Linked DNA regions of Homo sapiens: regions 1, 3, 4, 5 and 6 are each linked to region 2. Evidence: promoter capture Hi-C in 16 types of primary human blood cells and fetal thymus (Javierre and others, 2016). All regions are on one chromosome and are shown on one strand. The core of a region is centred on a gene start or on the middle of the fragment in contact, and the rest is flanking DNA. Distances in the headings are between cores, read along the strand shown.

Evidence for each region. Contacts are between HindIII fragments. The CHiCAGO score rates a contact against its expected background, and 5 or more counts as called.
Region 1: a fragment that was not itself captured here is called in contact with the fragment with the promoter of APP in region 2 in 3 of 17 cell types (neutrophils, fetal thymus and megakaryocytes); the score reaches 6.0 in neutrophils.
Region 3: a fragment that was not itself captured here is called in contact with the fragment with the promoter of APP in region 2 in 1 of 17 cell types (M2 macrophages); the score reaches 5.0 in M2 macrophages.
Region 4: a fragment that was not itself captured here is called in contact with the fragment with the promoter of APP in region 2 in 1 of 17 cell types (fetal thymus); the score reaches 11.7 in fetal thymus.
Region 5: a contact is called between a fragment that was not itself captured here and the fragment with the promoter of APP in region 2, in 2 of 17 cell types (fetal thymus and megakaryocytes). The highest score is 7.0, in fetal thymus.
Region 6: a contact is called between a fragment that was not itself captured here and the fragment with the promoter of APP in region 2, in 1 of 17 cell types (endothelial precursors). The highest score is 5.7, in endothelial precursors.

Annotation. Positions count from the first base shown.
Region 1 is chr21:25,852,133-25,855,076 of GRCh38, forward strand. No RefSeq gene overlaps it. Among named protein-coding and RNA genes, the nearest start is that of GABPA, 120 kb to the left of the region's middle. The HindIII fragment of the contact is 7,481 bases long and covers 1-2,944 here.
Region 2 is chr21:26,169,316-26,172,273 of GRCh38, forward strand. It overlaps APP (amyloid beta precursor protein), which reads right to left and starts at 1,455. Exons shown (of 18, transcript NM_000484.4): 1 at 1,249-1,455. The coding sequence starts at 1,305. It overlaps APP-DT (APP divergent transcript), which reads left to right and starts at 1,552. Exons shown (of 4, transcript NR_186396.1): 1 at 1,552-1,737. RefSeq lists enhancers at 1-167, 666-1,190 and silencers at 208-477, 978-1,807. The HindIII fragment of the contact is 2,642 bases long and covers 1-1,940 here.
Region 3 is chr21:26,541,928-26,544,762 of GRCh38, forward strand. All of the region lies in intron 2 of CYYR1 (cysteine and tyrosine rich 1), which reads right to left. The region is part of intron 2 of CYYR1-AS1 (CYYR1 antisense RNA 1); the gene reads left to right. Among named protein-coding and RNA genes, the nearest start is that of CYYR1, 30 kb to the right of the region's middle. The HindIII fragment of the contact is 6,910 bases long and covers 1-2,835 here.
Region 4 is chr21:25,812,748-25,815,450 of GRCh38, forward strand. No RefSeq gene overlaps it. Among named protein-coding and RNA genes, the nearest start is that of GABPA, 79 kb to the left of the region's middle. The HindIII fragment of the contact is 8,358 bases long and covers 1-2,703 here.
Region 5 is chr21:25,834,970-25,837,811 of GRCh38, forward strand. No RefSeq gene overlaps it. Among named protein-coding and RNA genes, the nearest start is that of GABPA, 100 kb to the left of the region's middle. The HindIII fragment of the contact is 2,062 bases long and covers 343-2,404 here.
Region 6 is chr21:26,508,879-26,511,645 of GRCh38, forward strand. All of the region lies in intron 2 of CYYR1 (cysteine and tyrosine rich 1), which reads right to left. All of the region lies in intron 2 of CYYR1-AS1 (CYYR1 antisense RNA 1), which reads left to right. Among named protein-coding and RNA genes, the nearest start is that of CYYR1, 63 kb to the right of the region's middle. The HindIII fragment of the contact is 2,666 bases long and covers 1-2,645 here.

The sequences.
Region 1 (2,944 bases), core at 173-2,672, 320 kb before region 2:
TTCACTAGACTTTTGTTTTCTGGTATTTCTCTCAGTGGGTGGTACTGTAATTTAGCAGCCATCCAAAATAAAACCTGAAAGCCCATTACTCTTCCCTGTTCTTCATTAATCCACATCCAATCATTAGTGTGTTAAAGATCTCTGTTTTCAAATATTGCATGTGCAGAGACTAAAAAGTGCACTGTATAAAATAGAGAGTATATTGGTAGTTACCAGAAGCCGGGAAAGGTAGGGGGAAGGGGGAGATGAAGATTGATTGATTCATGGGTACAAATATACAATTAGATAGAAGAAATAACACCTGGTATTTGATAGATCAGTGGGGTGACTACGGTTAACGTTAATCAATTGTACATTTCAAATTAGCAAGAAGAGAGTAATTCAAATGTTCTTAGCATTAAAAAATGATAAATATTCAAAGTGATGGATATCTCAATTACCTTGATTTGATTATATGAATGTATCAAATTATCACATGTACCCTGAAGATATTTACATTTATTATGTGTTAATAAAACAACTCTAGTCTTTTAAATATGTCCCCTATTTTCCACGCTTAGTATCAGAACTCTCTACTTTTTGCTTGTTTGAATCATTGCATTAGCTTTCTAACTGGCTTCTTTAATTCCTATTTGTATATTTAAAATCTGTCTTCCCAACTGGGCTCAGACCAGTGTGATACATCCAAAATACAAAACTGATGCTGTTTAAAGTGTGCTAGCAGCCCCCCTTTTTACACAGAATAAAGTCCATGCATTTCAGGATGGCCTCCATGAACTGGCCCATCTATATCTCTTTGGCCTCATGTTTATTTTATGATCTGTGGGATACGTATGGCTAGTGACCGAGAGCAAGGGCTCTGGAGTCAAAGCATCTGTTTATATTATGGTTTTTTCATCTATGAGCTGAGTGACCCCAGGAAGATTTAAATAGTATTCCATGGCTTAGTTTCCTCATATGTCAGGTGGGAATACAAAGAGCAGCTACTCATAGGGTTGTTGGAAGAATTTAAAAAATAATTTGTATAAAAACACACATTGGTCCATTTTGTGCTGCTATCATAGAATACTACAGACTGAATAATTTTTAAACAGTTTAAGTTTATTTGGCTCACGGTTCTGGAGGCTGGGAAGGCCAAGACTGAGGGTCTGCATCTGGTGAGAACCTTCTTGCTGCATCATAACATGGTAGAAGGCATCACATGGTGAGAGAATGCAAGAATAAGAAAAAGTGAAGGGTGCTGAACTCACCTTTTATAAAGACACCACTCCCTTGATAATGAACCCACTCCTGCAATGACAACATTAATCCATTCATGAGGATGGAACCCTCATGACCTAAACACCTCTCATTAGGTTCTGCCTCCCAACACTGCTGCATTGGAGATTACGTTTTCAACACATGAACTTTGGGGAACACATTCAGACCATAGAATAACATTTAGTGAAGTGTCAGGCACATAACAGATATTCTACAATGTCAGTTATATTAATATTAAACTGCTTGTTTTCATCATGTGCCATGTTTTTCTATTCTTTGTCTTGCTGTCTTTTGTTTTCCTTTGTGTAAAATGTTCTTGCTCTGCTTCACTATGGAACAGTGGTTGACAGCATGGGCTTTGGGTGAGATTAAAACAGGTTTGGATTCAGACACTTCCATGGATTAACTGTGCAACATTACAAAGAGTGCTCAAGAAGTGATTATTATTATCCTATGTACCCTTCAGGATTCAGCTCAGGGGAAATCATCTCTGTGCCAGTTATGAGGCTATTACCTTTTGGCATCAAATCTATCCTTCCATAGTTGGCATTTTGATGCTGGGGCCAGGATTCTGCAACCTGCATTTTTACTTTGCCTGCAGGCTCCGTGTTAGGCTCCCTCTACTTGGGAAGGAAGACAGAAGCAGCAGGGCTGAGGGAGGAAGAAGGGACTTCCACCTCCTGTTTGTGTCCTGTGTGCCTCCTGCCTGCTGCCTGTTCCTACTAGGCTGTTAGTTCTTGTTTTATCTTTTCAAAAGACAGAGATGAGGGTGAGGTCAATGAAGCATCTGCCTCAGGAACAAAATTTAAGGGAACACTAATACTAAGGAATCAGGATAAATTACTGTATATTCAAATATAATATTTTAAAAAATCAAAATTAAATGAAAAAAAACCCATAATGAACAAAATATCAAAATTTTAGTAGAGACCAGTGCCCGCTGAGCCACATTAGAGCCTGGGGCCACTGGTTTTAATAAAAACAAACTCATCAATAATATATTCAAAATCTACTTTGTTGCTAATTTCATTTTTAGTTGAGAGAATTACTGTGTTTGACAATTTCTCTTGTCCAAGAGATGATCTTTAATAATTTTTACTTAGCTTAAGCTGATACAGAGTGATAACAAATTAGCTTTTGGCATAAGTAAAATATTAAACTTAAAATAACACTGTGGGCTGGGAGTAGTGGGAGTAGTGGCTTATGCCTGTAATCCTAGCTCTTTGGGAGGCTGAGGCGGGTAGATCACTTGAGCCCAGGGGTTGAGGCCAGGCTGGGCAACATAGCCAAACCTTGTCTGTACAAAAAAATACCAAATTAGCTGGGTGTGGTGGCACATGTCTGTAGTCCCAGCGACTCAGGATGCTGAGGTGGGAGAATTGCTTGAGCTCAGGAGGCAGAGGTGGTTGTGAGCTGAAATTGTGTCACAGCACTCCAGCCCGGGCAACAGAGCAAGACTTCATCTCAGAAAAATGGAAAATAAAAATAACATTGTGAATTTTAATACACCTACTTTTCGGACTTTCAATATTTTTCTTTTTTCTTTTTCTTTTTTTTGAGATGGAGCCTCCCTTCATTGCCCAGGTTGGAGTGCAGTGGCATGATCTCAGCTTTGTAACCTCTGCCTCCTGGGTTCGAGCAATTCTTCCACCGCAGCCTCCTGAGTAGCTGAGACTACCAGTGC
Region 2 (2,958 bases), core at 205-2,704:
TCGATCCTTTTATCTGCACCCTAAAAAAAAGACCCTTCGGACCCTCCCCAGCATCCTGTGCCCCCAGGGGAACTAAACCAGAGTCCCCAGAGCTGCCAGGGAAGAGGCCGCGCCTTAATCAGACAAACGCCTCCTTGGATGCACAGGACAGAGCCCGTGCCTCCCCACCATCCGCCACTGCCCTTTCCAGACGCACATCCCACTCTCCGCCTTATTTCCTCCCCGCCAAGGACTTTACAGCCCAGCACAGAATTAAGCCTCGGAGGTGATCCGAGGGTGGGAAGCAGAGGGGCCCCGAGGCTCCGCCAGAAGCCCCGGCAGCGTCTCTGCCCCCTCCCAGGCGGACGCGCAGCCCCGGGAAGGGAGCCGGGCGGGAGCCTCGGTGGCGCACTGAGACTAACGCGGCTCGGCCCACGGCGAGGGCGGGGTGTCGCGGCTTTTGTTCCCGCGGACCTTCTGCCTCTCAGACAGAGCTTAGGGTGCGAGCGAACTCCCGGGACGTCCAGACTTGGGGAAGGCGCGGGGTGGCTATGGGTCTCCGACCCCTCCCATTTCTCGCAAGTTACACAAAAGGGAGACGCGGACATGCACAAAGTTTGCCTGTGGAAGGCGGTGCGCGACCCCGACGCCGGCTCGGGCTAGGGTCGCACCCAGGCTGCCGCCGCCAGCAGCCGCGAAAAGAGGTTGGAGCAAGGAAGGGGGATGGGGGTGAGAGAGGAAGGTGAAACGAGGCGGAGAACGCAGGGAAAAGCGAGGGGCTCCTAGCTTCCTGGGCTGTCCCGACTCCTCCTCCTCCTCCCCAGGGCCCAAGAGAAAGGAAAGGGCAACGATTCAAGAGCGAAGGACTGGCTTTAGGGACGCTGCGTTTTCGGTTTTCCCCACGTGCTCCTTCCCCCTTCCCCCCTGTCTGAATGTCTCTCGCCTCCCCCGACCCCCGCTTCCAAGGCAGGGACTAAGTCGGGGTCTGGGCTCAGGGTCGCCCCCTACCCTTCTCGCCCCGGGCTGGCGCGGAACCAGGGAGACCAGCGCCTCGCCCGCTCCCTCTCAGCGGGCCGGAGCGCGACTCCCTGGGGCAGGGCTGGGCCGAAAGCGGGGATGCGCTGGACGTCCGCAAGCGGGGGCGGAGAGGAGAGGGGTCCCATTGACGGACCCCCGGCTTCTCTGCATTAAAGACTTGGGTTAAGGTCTTGGGGGGTATCGCGTCCCCACCGTGCAGCCTCCCCCCGCCTTCCGAGGCGCGGCACCCACCTCCAGCGCCCGAGCCGTCCAGGCGGCCAGCAGGAGCAGTGCCAAACCGGGCAGCATCGCGACCCTGCGCGGGGCACCGAGTGCGCTGCTGTGCGAGTGGGATCCGCCGCGTCCTTGCTCTGCCCGCGCCGCCACCGCCGCCGTCTCCCGGGGCCCCCGCGCACGCTCCTCCGCGTGCTCTCGCCTACCGCTGCCGAGGAAACTGACGGAGCCCGAGCGCGGCGGCGGGGCTCAGAGCCAGGCGAGTCAGCTGATCCGGCCCACCCCGCTCGGCACCCGAGAGAGACCCCTAGCGGCGCCGCCGGGGAACTGCGCCCGCTCGCGCCGGGAGGGGCCCTCGCGCCCCGCGCCCACAGGTGCACGCGCCCTTGGCGCCGCCTGCACCCCACGCGCCCCCTCCGCTCCCCGGCCGACGGCCCACCTGGGCTTCGTGAACAGTGGGAGGGAGAGTCTGGGGCCAGGAGAGGGACGGTGCAGGATCAGGGAAAGGTGAGTCCTAGGACGCTGAGGCTCTAGAAAAGTCGAGAGCGCTCCTGCTCGTCCCCGTGAGCTTGAATCATCCGACCCCGCAGGCCTCCCGGGGGTGTCGTATAAAGGACTGCTGCTAGGGTGCGTTTTTATCCGCATTTCGTTTTTTCTCTCGGTTTGGAGAGGTGGGGCAGGCGTTTCTGGAAGAGAATGAGAACGAGTGAAGCTTAAAGGAAATAGGATTTTCTTTGCTTGTTGAGACAGCAAAACCTCATTTTTTAACCCCCAACGTCAAAAGCAGGCACGAGCAACCTGGAATTTCTATCTTTAGAACGAACCAAAGGAGCAAGGCGCAGGACCTGGCAAAGAAGCGGCCAACCCATTTACTTCTTCTTGAAAGCAGGGTTCTGGGCTTGGGTTTTGTTTCTTTCTTATATTTTTGTTTGTTTTTGGTTTTGTTTTGTTAAAGGGGGTGGTCAGTGTGGATTTTGCGGGGCGGGGGGTCTTTTTTTGTTGTTAAGCAGGGATGTAACATCCATCTGAGTTGGGGAAGAAGGAAAAATTAGGAGAGATCATTCGTATTCGACCCCCGTAAATGAGGACTTCTGACCTCAAACGCTGCCCTTGTTCTTCATTGTGTCTGTCCTGAATTATAGAAATGAACCTTCTGCCATGCCACTTTCTCCTGGATTAAACACAAACCGTCCACTGTCCAGTTAGTGTCCAGATAGTTTAGAATGCTCTAGAACTGCCCAGATATATCCCCTGCTCTTGACCTGAAGTAGCATTTAGTTACCAAGCCACAGCCCACTCCACACAGGGCTTGGAGCGAAGGACTGAAGCCAGGGAGTGCTCTGGCCCTTCTGAGGGCTGCACTGCAGCCTGCCTTCTCTCCCTTGCTCATTGCGCTGACAAGGGTGCCTAGGCCCGGGAAGGATGGCTCAGCCAGCGGGGTACAGACTTCCTTCCTGGGAAGTCATTTCTGTACCAGCTCCCCTAAATGTTGTCTTGTGTGTCTTTTCCCGCACTAGGCATTCAGTCTTGACTCTTGGATTACTTTTGCCCCTGAATGTCCTTTGGATGTCCTCAACAAATAAGGACAAATATTTATTGTCATGCAGTATTTGTTTATACGCTTCATGTCATTTACTTCCTACAAAAGCCAAAGAGGCTGTTACTATTATTCCTATTTATACATCAGGAAAATGAAGCTAATGAACTCCCAAATCTAATAGCAAGTAA
Region 3 (2,835 bases), core at 147-2,646, 370 kb after region 2:
AAGCAATTTCAATTAACTCAAAAGTAGCAGGAGAGGAGCATGAAGGAAACACAAAGCAAGTGGGACAAACAGAAAAGATAACAGTAAACTGAAAGACTAAATCCCACCACATCAGTAGGAAATGAAGTATTTTAAAAGGCAGAGATTGTCAGAATTACTTAAAAAGCATGAACTATTTGTTGTCTACATGAAAGGTACTTTGAATACAAAAAAATCAAGTAGATGCCCTCTGAATACAGAAACTCCCTTAAGGGCTGGGAAGATATTCTATTATACCATGCAACATAAACAGCATAAGAAGGTGGGGGACGGGGGCGGGGCGGGAGAGAGAAAGAGAGAGAGAGAGAATATGTGTGTGTGTGCGTGTGTGTGTGTGTGTGTGTGTGTGTGTGTGTGTGTCAGAGATATATTTTCCCAGGAATGCAAACATCATTTAAATTTTGAAAATTTATCAATATATTTCACCTTACAAGAGACCTAAACATGCGATCATTTCAACAGATGCAAAAAGCGTTTGATGAAATTCAACCTCCATTCATTACAGAACTCTCAGCGAATTAGGAACAGAAAGAAATTTCCTCAATCCGATAAAAAGAATCAATGAAAAACATTACAATTAGCATCATGCTTAATTGTTTTTTTCCTATGTTCCAGAACAAGGCAAAGATACCTACTCCAACAACTTCTAGTCAATATTTCCAGAGACATAAAGTAAAAACCAAAAAGAATTAAAAGGCATACAGATCAGAAAGAAGTAAAACTCTATTTGCAGATAAGATTTTTTTTACATAGAAAATCCTAATCAATGTATAAAGTAATTACTAGATGTACAAAGTGAATTTAGCAATGTTGTTTTATATATGATCAATACACTAACACCAATTGTATTTTCATACTCTGCAGCAACAAACAACTAGAAAACAAAATTAATAACAATTCCATGTATTAGGGTGTTAAGAAGCAAATTACTATTTAGGAAATTTAACAAAGGCAAGGACTGACTCACATTTACCTTCATTTTCACAATGTTTAGCCCAATGCCTAAATGATATATTCAACACAATTTTTTGAAAAGCTAAAGAATGTTTGTCTGCTATAAAAAGATTCAAGTTAAAGTCTTTAAAAATTCCTTAGCAAACTAACACAGGAACAGAAAACCAAACACTGCATGTCTGCATGTTCTCACTTAGAAGTAGGAGCTGAACAAGGAGAACACAGGGACACAGGGAGGGGAACGGCACACACTGGAGTCTGTTGCGTGGTGGATGCGGGGAGGAAGAGCAGTAGGAAAAACAGCTAATGCACGCCGGGCTTAATACCTAAGTGGTGGGTTGACAGGTGCAGCAAACCACCATGGCACATGTTTACCTATGTAACAAACCTGCACATGTACCCCAGAACTTAAAATAAAAATAAAATTTTAAAAAGTTATGATATTCAATTCAATGTAGAAAGAGACAGTAAAATAATCTTTTTCAAAAAAAAAATTATAGGTTGTTTTTTCCTTCATCTCTCTGTCCAGGTTTAAGTGCAGCAGGGCTCAAAGAATGGCACCCACATGTCAGGGGCCTGTGCTCCTTTCCTTCCGCACTGGGACCTGTGCTACTTTGGCACCTCAGCAAAGCATGTACTGAAGTTGCACACAATCATCTCTGCTCATGCACCATTGGCTGAAGTTAGTTAAATGGTCACATATAGCTGGGCGTGGTGGCTCACGCCTGTAATCCCAGCACTTTGGGAGGCCGAGGCGGGTGGATCACCTGAGGTCCGGAGTTCGAGACCAGCCTGACCAACAAGGTAAAACCCCGTCTCTATTAAAAAATACAAAAATTAGGGGGTGTGGTTGTGGACGTCTGTAATCCCAGCTACTCAGGAGGCTGAGGCAGGAGAATTGCTTGAACCCGGGAGGCGGAGTTTGCAGTGAACCGAAATCACGGCACTGCACTCCAGCCTGGGCTACAGAGTGAGACTCCATCTCAAAAAATAATAATAATAATAAATAAATAAAATAAAATAAATGGTCACACATAGCTGCAAGGAGGGCTGGGATTGTAGTGCTTACCCTGGAAAGCTATTGTGCTCTATTAAATTTATATCAATATTAGATAAGGGAGATTGGACATTAGAAGACAACTTGTTGTCACTAACATACCATTTCTAACTGTCTGACAGATACAGTGAAGAAGAATTTTAATGGCGATATTTTACCGTTCTGAAGACTAAAACATTTTGAGATTATTAATGAATTTAAAGCTCACTTCTACTAATCCACCAACCAGAATACAGGAAAACTGTTCAGCTGCTGTTTTTATTTACTTGAATTCTGTACGAATAATCACTTTTAGTCGTCAAAATCCTAAAATATGAACTTAACAAGACTCACTGTTAAATGCAGAGCGCTTAGAAAACCAGACACAGAACCTGACCAGGATTTATGAATCATATGTTAAAACAGAAATCGTAAAATAAGATTTATGCCTGGTCAAATTATAGATTTTAGCATACTGACTCATAAATCAGTCACCTGAATCCCAAGGGCAATAAAAGGATTTATAAATCAAAACTGATTTAGGATTTATTAGCTAAATGTCTACCATAAGAATGCCGTGTTTATAAATCTCTTTTGACTTACAGAACTAAATTTCACAAACTCTACAGTCAGGGCCCATCTCTAATGATGCTTTTGAAGGGTATACATCCTGGTGACCCTGAAGAAACACGGATCGATGATAATGTCAGAGGAAAGAGAATTGTATTAAAATTATTAAACATTATTTAAATAAATTCTAAAGGATGATCTTGTAAGTAAAAACAACATCTATCTCTATATTTTTG
Region 4 (2,703 bases), core at 126-2,625, 360 kb before region 2:
GAGATAGAGACTATCCTGGCTAACATGGTGAAACTCCGTCTCTACTAAAAATACAAAAAATTAGCCGGGCGTGGTGGCGGGCGCCTGTAGTCCCAGCTACTCAAGAGGCTGAGGCGGGAGAATGGCGTGAACCCGGGAGGCGGAGCTTGCAGTGAGCCGAGATCGCACCACTGCACTCCAGCCTAGACGACAGAGCGAGACTCCGTCTCTGAATAAATAAATTAATTAATAAGGCTAATATTACCATAAGAAGATGCTCATATTTATTTAGGCATCAGAAAATGGAGATTAAAGCCCTATTAAGATACCACTACACATCCTACCTCTGCGAGAATGGCCAAAATTAAAAAGACTGACAGTGCCAGTTTTGGTGAGAATGTGGAGTAACTGGGACTTTCAGGTATTATTGGTGGGAGTGAAAATAGTATGGTACGCAAAGCTGCAATAATCAAAACAAAACTGGCATGGAGACAGACCATAGAGACTAGTGGAATGGAATAGAAAAAACGGAAATAACCCCTGTCACATATGGTCAAATAATTTTTGACAAGGTTGCTAAGATCATTCAATGGGAAAAGGGCAGTCTTTTAAACAAATGGTACTGGAAAAACTGGATGTCCACATGCATGACAATGAAATTGGTCCCTTACTTTACAACGTACACAAAAGTTAACTCAAAGCGGATCAAAGACCTAAACATAAGAGCTAAAACTATAAAACTCTTAGAAGAAATTATAGCAGAAAATTTTCATGATGTTAGGTTTGAAAATTATTTCTCGGATATGGCAATAAAAGTAAAAATAGATAAATTTGACTAAATTAAAATTTAAAACTTCTGTATATGCGTATGAATAGCCAAAATCAACAAATGAGGAAAAAGCAACTTACACAATGAGAACATACTTACAAATCACATTTCTAATAAGGGGTTAATATCCATAATATACAGTATAAAGAACTCCTACAACTCAGCAAAGAAAACCAAACAGTCCAATTTTAAAAACGGGCAAAGAATTTTTTTTTTTTTTTGAGATGGAGTTTCACTCTTGTCACCCAGGCTGCAGTGCGATGGCGCAATCTCGGCTCACTGCAACCTCAGCCTCCTGGGTTCAAGCGATTCTTCTGCCTCAGCCTCCTGAGTAGCTGGGATTACAGGGGACCACCATCACACTAAGGTAATTTTTGTATTTTTAGTAGAGAGCGGGTTTCACCAGTTAGCCAGGCAGGTCTTGAACTCCTGACCTCAAATGATCTGCCCATCTCAGCCTCCCAAAGTGCAGGGATTACAGGCATAAGTCACCACACCTAGCCTTAGGGCAAATAATTTGAATGGACATTTCTCTAAAGATGTACAAATGAGCAACAAGCACAAAAAAGATGTTCAGTATTACTAATCATTAGGGAGATACAAATGAAAACCACAAAGAGATACTACTATTAAAAAACCTGAAAATAGCAACTGTTGCTAAGGATGTGGAGGAACTGGAGAAATTCACTGTTGGTGGGATTGTAAAATGGTGCAGATGCTGTGGAAAACTATATTGTTTTCAAAACAAAGATTGAATATAAAATTACCATATGATCAAACCACTCCCCTTCTGGTTATACATCGAAAAGAATTGCAATCAGGGTCTCAATGAGATACTTATCCACCCATGTTCACAGCAGCATCATTTAAAATAGCCAAAAAGTAGAAGCTAACCCAAGCGTCCACTGGTGGATAAATAAACAAAATGTGGTATGTACATACAATAGAATATTATTCAGCCTCAGAAAAGGAAGGACGTTCTTTCTTCTTCTTTTTTTTTTTTTTTTTTTTTTTTTTGAGAAAGAGTCTCACTCTGTCGCCCAGGCTGGAGTGCAGTGGCTCGATCTCAGCTCACTGCAACCTCCACCTCCTGGGTTCAAGCAATTCTCCTGTCTCAGCCTCCTGAGTAGCTGGGACTACAGTTGCATGACACCATGCCTGGCTAATTTTTGTATTTTTAGTAGAGATGGGGTTTCACCATATTGCTCAGGCTGGTCTCAAACTCCTGACCTCAGGTGATCCACCCGCCTTGGCCTCTGAAAGTGCTGGGATTACAGGCGTGAGCCACTGTGCCCAGCCAAAGAAGGACATTCTGACACATGCTACAACATGGATGAACCTAGATTCAGGACATTATACTAAGGGAAATAAGCCAGTCAGAAAAAGATAAATACTGTATGATTCCACTTATATCAGGTACCTCAAATAGTCAAATTCATAAAGACAGAAAATAGCATGATGGTTGCCAGGAGCTGGGGAATAGAGAGAATGGGAAGTTGTTTAATGGGTACAGAGTTTCAGTTTTGCAAAGTGAAAAGACCTTTGGAGATTGGTTGCACAGCAATGTGAATGTACTTAGTGCTATCGAACTGTATACAGTCATCCCTCAATATTTGTGCAAGATTGGTTCCAAGATCCTGCTCATTGCCAAAATCTGTGGATACTCAAATCCCTTATATAGAATGGTAGTATTTGCATATAACCTCTGCACATCCTCCTATATACTTTAAATCATTTTTAGATCGCTTATAATACCCAGTACAATGTAAATGCTATGTAAATAGTTGTCAGACTGTGTTATTTGTATTAATTTTTTAATGTTGCATTTTAAAAAATATTTTGACTGCTCTGCATTCGGATGAATCTATGGATGTGGAGCCTGCAGTTACAGAAGG
Region 5 (2,842 bases), core at 124-2,623, 330 kb before region 2:
AATAAGAACCTTGGCCTCCACATCCCCTTGTCTTAACCCGGACACTCCCTTCTGATTCCAGGTCTTTACATACCACCTTTACTCTTTCAAACAATTGTCAATCAAAAATCTTTGAATTCACCTATGACCGGAAGCCTCCCTCTTCACCCCTCTACCCCTGCAACATACACCTTACATGTATTGACTGATGTCTTACGTCTCCCTAAAATGTATGAAGCCAAGCTGCAGACTGACTCCCTCGGGCACGTATTCTTAGGACCTGGGGCCGTGGTCACTCATGTTTGGCTCAGAATAAATCTCTTCAAATATTTTAACAGAGTTTGACTCTTTTCCTCGACAGGAAGCTTTGTCAATGCTGGTGAGGGCCATTGTGTAATGATGAATTGAGAGTTTTGTGGAAAGCCAGATTACCATGGATTGAAGAGTAAACGAGATGGGAGAGTGTGGGTTTATCTTTTGTAAAGAGTGTCTGAAAGGAGGAAAGACATTTCCTAACTACAAGACAGATTAGGTCAAAAGCAAATTGTCTTTTTTTTGGTTTGTTTTTTTAAGAGGAAAGATAGTTGGATGTTCCACACAGCACTGGAAATGAGTGACTGTTGCTGAGGACACAGGCCAAGGCCGACTTGGAAGGCCTCTGTACTCTATGTGGGCACCATTTCCAGACTCGCTGTTGTGCAAATCTGGGTTCATAGAGGTGCCTTGCTGAGTCTCTGGTACTGTCTTTTCAGTAAGTCCTCTTTTGAGACATGAATTGAAAGCACCATAGAAACAATGGACCCTCCCACTCTGCTCTGAAGCAGGCCTAGCCCCTGACTCCCTACGTTGCTGGGTGGAAGCCAGTCCTCTCTCCAATTTTGCAGATTTGCTATCTAAAGAATTTGCAGGCCAGGCGCAGTGGCTCACGCCTGTAATCCCAGCACTTTGGGAGGCTGAGGGAGGTGGATCATGAGGTCTGGAAATCGAGACCATCCTGGCCAACACGGTGAAACCCTGTCTCTACTAAAAATACAAAAAATTAGCCAGGTATGGTGGCAGGTGCCTGTAGTCCAAGCTACTCGGGAGGCTGAGGCAGGAGAATGGCATGAACCCGGGAGGCGGAGCTTGCAGTGAGCCGAGATAGTACCACTGCACTTCAGCCTGGGTGACAGAGCGAGACTCCGTCTCAAAAAAAAAAAAAAAAAAAAAAAAAAGAATTTGCAAAACCTTACACGTTCCTCTTTTTATGTGTTTCCTGCAAGCTGCAGGTCACATATTGGAAGAAGATCCTTGGAACAGAGGGATTGGTATAGCCCTGAGCTTCCCAAGGTAAACACACAAGCCAAGTCCTAGCAGCACCAGGTTAGGGTAAATAAAAAATTTGAAAGGAGCAAACTTGCTTTTGTTTTAAAATATCATAGTTTAATGAGAAATTTGAGCCTTGGTGACTGTCTTAACCCTTTTTTTTGTGAATATTGACGATAGGCCTTGATCCATAGTATGCCACGGGTACATGATCCTTTCACAAATCTATGGTGGTGAAAAATGTCTCTTTATAATGTGTTGTGTACTGGTAATCTGAGGCTGGAAGAGTTGTGGATGTGGTAAAAATCAGTCTTTGTGGTTGGCCCACATTTTTTTTCTTTGGCCTCTGGCAACTGCACCCTGTGTGTGTGGGCATAAGAACAGTATGGATCCATCACCTTACTGGCTTGTCAGCAATTACATAAGACAGCTCCACTTTCACTGAGAGTAACAATAATAATTTCTTCTGAGGACTTTTCTGGAAATGAAAACACTTTAAGCAAAAAGCAGTGATCTAATTTGGAAGCAATACCTAGCAGAAAGTGTATTCGTTTCCTAGGGCTGCCGTAAAAAAAAAAGACCACAAACTGTGTGGCTTCACACAACAGAAATGTATTCTTTCCCAGTTACAGAGGCCAGAAGTCCAAAATCAAGGTGTTGACAAGGTTGGTTCATTCTGGAGGCTCTGAGGGAGAATCTCTTCCATGCCTCTCTCCCAGCTCCTGGTGAGTGCCAGCAGTTCTTGGTGCTCCTTGGCTTGCTGATGCCTGACTCCAAATCTCTATCTCCATCATGTGGCATTCTGTCTGGATGTCTCTGTGTCCCTGTCTTCACAGGGCCTTCACATGACACCAGTCATTGGAACTAGTGTGCATTCCAATCCAGTACGACCTCATCTTAACTTGGTTACATCTGCAAAGACCCTGTTTTCAAATAAATTCACATGTACTTGAACTGGGGGTTAGGGCTTCAACATATCTTTCTGCGGGAACACAACTCAATCAAGAACAGGAGGCTATTGAGAAATAGGTATTTAGAAGAGCTCAGTAAGAATCCACATTTAGCATACAAGGAAGGAACATGGTATGCTGAGTAGTGAATTATAACTTTTATGTATTCAAGCTTTGGTAAAAGCTGGAATCCCTCTGGGGAAATTAAGAAAAAAAATCCCACTTTGATAGAGGCTGAAATTCTTGGTAGTGGAAAGCAGATGAGCCCACTCTGTCTAGCACATATAGCAGTTTCCCTCTCTTTAAATTGGATAAGTCTGGCCTGGAAACTAGAAATCTCGGTTGACAGCCATAAACCACTTAGAAGTAGTCAGAATTACAGTCATTTGCAATATACCATACCCTATAAGAAGAGCATCTCCTTAATCATAATATCCAACTCTCAGACTATCCTTTTATAGACATTGAGGCTACAAAGGCATTTTCTTGATGGATTCCATGGTCCCGGGAACTTCTCAGAATCTGCATGGCTTATTCTGGGAAATTTGCCAGACCTCAGCCTTTTAAATTTGTGTAACTTACATGATGAATAGTGTATTGTGTAGGAA
Region 6 (2,767 bases), core at 63-2,562, 340 kb after region 2:
ATGTGCATTGTGAACTAAGACCACGAGCATTGGTTTAGTGAGGATTAGCCCATGCCTCAAAATAACACATGATCGAATACACATTATATTGCAACACTCTCCATTGTAAATAACTGTTCAATGCCATAAATCTGCTTTTAGAAAACAGTCCTCTAAAAATAGAAATCAAACCATATTGCTACACTGCATCACACTCAAAGGCTTCTCATTTCACTCAGAGTAAAAGGCAAAGTCCTTACAATAGCCTACAAACCCCTCCATGATATGCCTTGTTCTCCTTGTCTCTCTAACCTCATTGCTCTTTACACTCCTCCCTCTCAGTCACTGTATTCAGCTATACTGACCTCTTTGCTGCTCCTAAAACATCAAATGCTCGACAATTCCCTTTTTCCTAGAATGTATTTCTTGCAGATATCTGTATGCTGTTAAGTCATTGGTCAAATGTTACATTTTACGTGAGTTCTTTCTTGACCACTGAGTTAAAATTGTGGCACCTAAGCCTTAATAACTTCCTATCCCTTTTTACTATTTTATTTTCTCCATAGAACCAAAGACCAGTTTTTGTACTTCCTTTAACATCTTAACTGGAGATGATATATTAGGAGATAATAATGGTATAATGCTGATAGCAGCTGTAGAAAGGATGTGGATTAGTTTTGTTAGAATAAGCTGAGCTTATGCTGCAGTGACAACTGGCCCTCAGATCTCAGTGGCTTTACTGAAAAAGTTTATTTCTTCCTCAGTCAAAGCCTGCTTAAGTCAGATGACTCTCCAGGGTAGCTCTCCTCTATGCAGTGACTCAGTGATCCAGGATTTTTCATCCTATAGCTCCACCATCTCAATCTATGGCTTCCATGTTTGCTACCGAGGATCTCACGAAGGCTTTTATCCAACTCGTTCCAGAAGTGACACACCTCATTCCTGCTCATAGCCTATTGGTCAGAGCTAGTACCATGATCTCACCCAACTGGGGGTTAAGGCTGACTGGGAAGTATGATGTTCTAAGTGCTCTGGAAGGAGAGGAGACTTGGCTATTGGTGAGCACTCCTCAGGTTTACACAGCAACCAACTCTGGAATGATCTTCTTAAGATGCAGTGTGATGCAATGTAGGGAGCACAGAACAGGATTCAGCAGGGCTGGATGTAAGATCTCATTGAACTAATCACTATTCACATGGCTTCAATTTAGGTATCCGCTCTGGAACTCTATTTTCAAACTCATGAGATCGGGGAAAATACTTATCCTGCTTATATCAGAAAGGTTTGTAAGTCCCAAATATAAAAGTTTGTAAACAGAATTTCCAAATGTAGGCAACCGTTCAAATGCCAGTACATGAATAATGCAGTATGGAGCATAGGAAACCTGCCCAGATAAGATAAAATGAATTACATTCCTATTTTACATCAATATTTATAAAGTTATCTCATTGTTAGAGCCATAGAGAATGCTATCATTTCCAGACCTGCTGGCTTAACAGCTGTGATACCTAGCCAGTGAGGTAGGGAGCTGTTTATGTATCAGCACTGGTTTATTTTGTATGTATGGAGCATGAAGAAAATGCCAAGGAAATTCAGATGTATAACAAACACTTAAGATTACCGAAAGCAAAATTCATTCAACAGTGAATGAATCCAATACTGGCAGCTTGTGTGGTATCTTCTGTTCTGTTGCTGGAGGACATTGGCTATTGTGCAATGTAGTCTATTGTTGCAAGGATTCATGTGTATTTAGCACAAGGTATGATACTGACAAAATATCAGCTATTTGAAAAGTCTCATTAGAATGTATTTAAGGATATATTAAAATCTTTTGATAATATTAGATTTTATAGATTTGAGTACTAAGTACATTTGTTGTCAGACTTCAAAAAGATATTGAATTTATATATAATAATTTTGTTAGTCACTTCAAGTTTGTTGAGGATGGTAAAATATTAGCATTAATAATGATATCCTATTTGTCAGTGTTATCTATTCAAAGAAGTATTATAAATAACAAATCTAAACTTTTAAATACATTTAATACAAAATAGTCAAATATGTGGATTTCTCTATTATTTTACTAGTGATTTGGGTCTTCTGGAATTCCTCAGCAGACTTTTACAACATTAGGGTAGAAGGAATCCAAATTATCTGTTTCAATTCCTTGCCAAATGAACACATTATCCCTATGGGGAACTTCTTGCTAACTGACGTTATTGTAGCATGCCATTTATTATCTGTGAGAAAGTTTACCCTTTGTGTGTATCCATATGTGATAGAGAAGTATTTCACATAGTAAACAGATATTTGCCTCAGTAGACACTTCACCCATTATTTTAGATTGGAGATGTTTCTTGCCACTGGTATCTGTGTTATACACACATACTAAATATTAGTAACATCTTTACAGTTCATTTAAAAATAGTAGATTCAGAGACTAAACTATTAAAGATGATAAACCAGTTAGTACTTGGGTAACCAACACATAAAAACCTAGATGATAATTTTCTAATCGAATCTTGTCATGGAATTTTCCTGCCTAGTCATTGGCTCACATAGTTCTACTGTGATGAACAAAAGAAGATGGATCCAATAAGATCAGACACAAATAGATGCCCATAGTCATATGCTGGAATGCAGACAGCATATCAACAATGAGATAAAGCTTTGTACAACAGAAGTTCACTGAATCGATATTCTGAAACATTCCCAAGTGCTGGCTTTTAAAATGGAGGGTAACAGAAAGCACAATGAATTTTATAAGATGTTTTATATGATGTTGTGA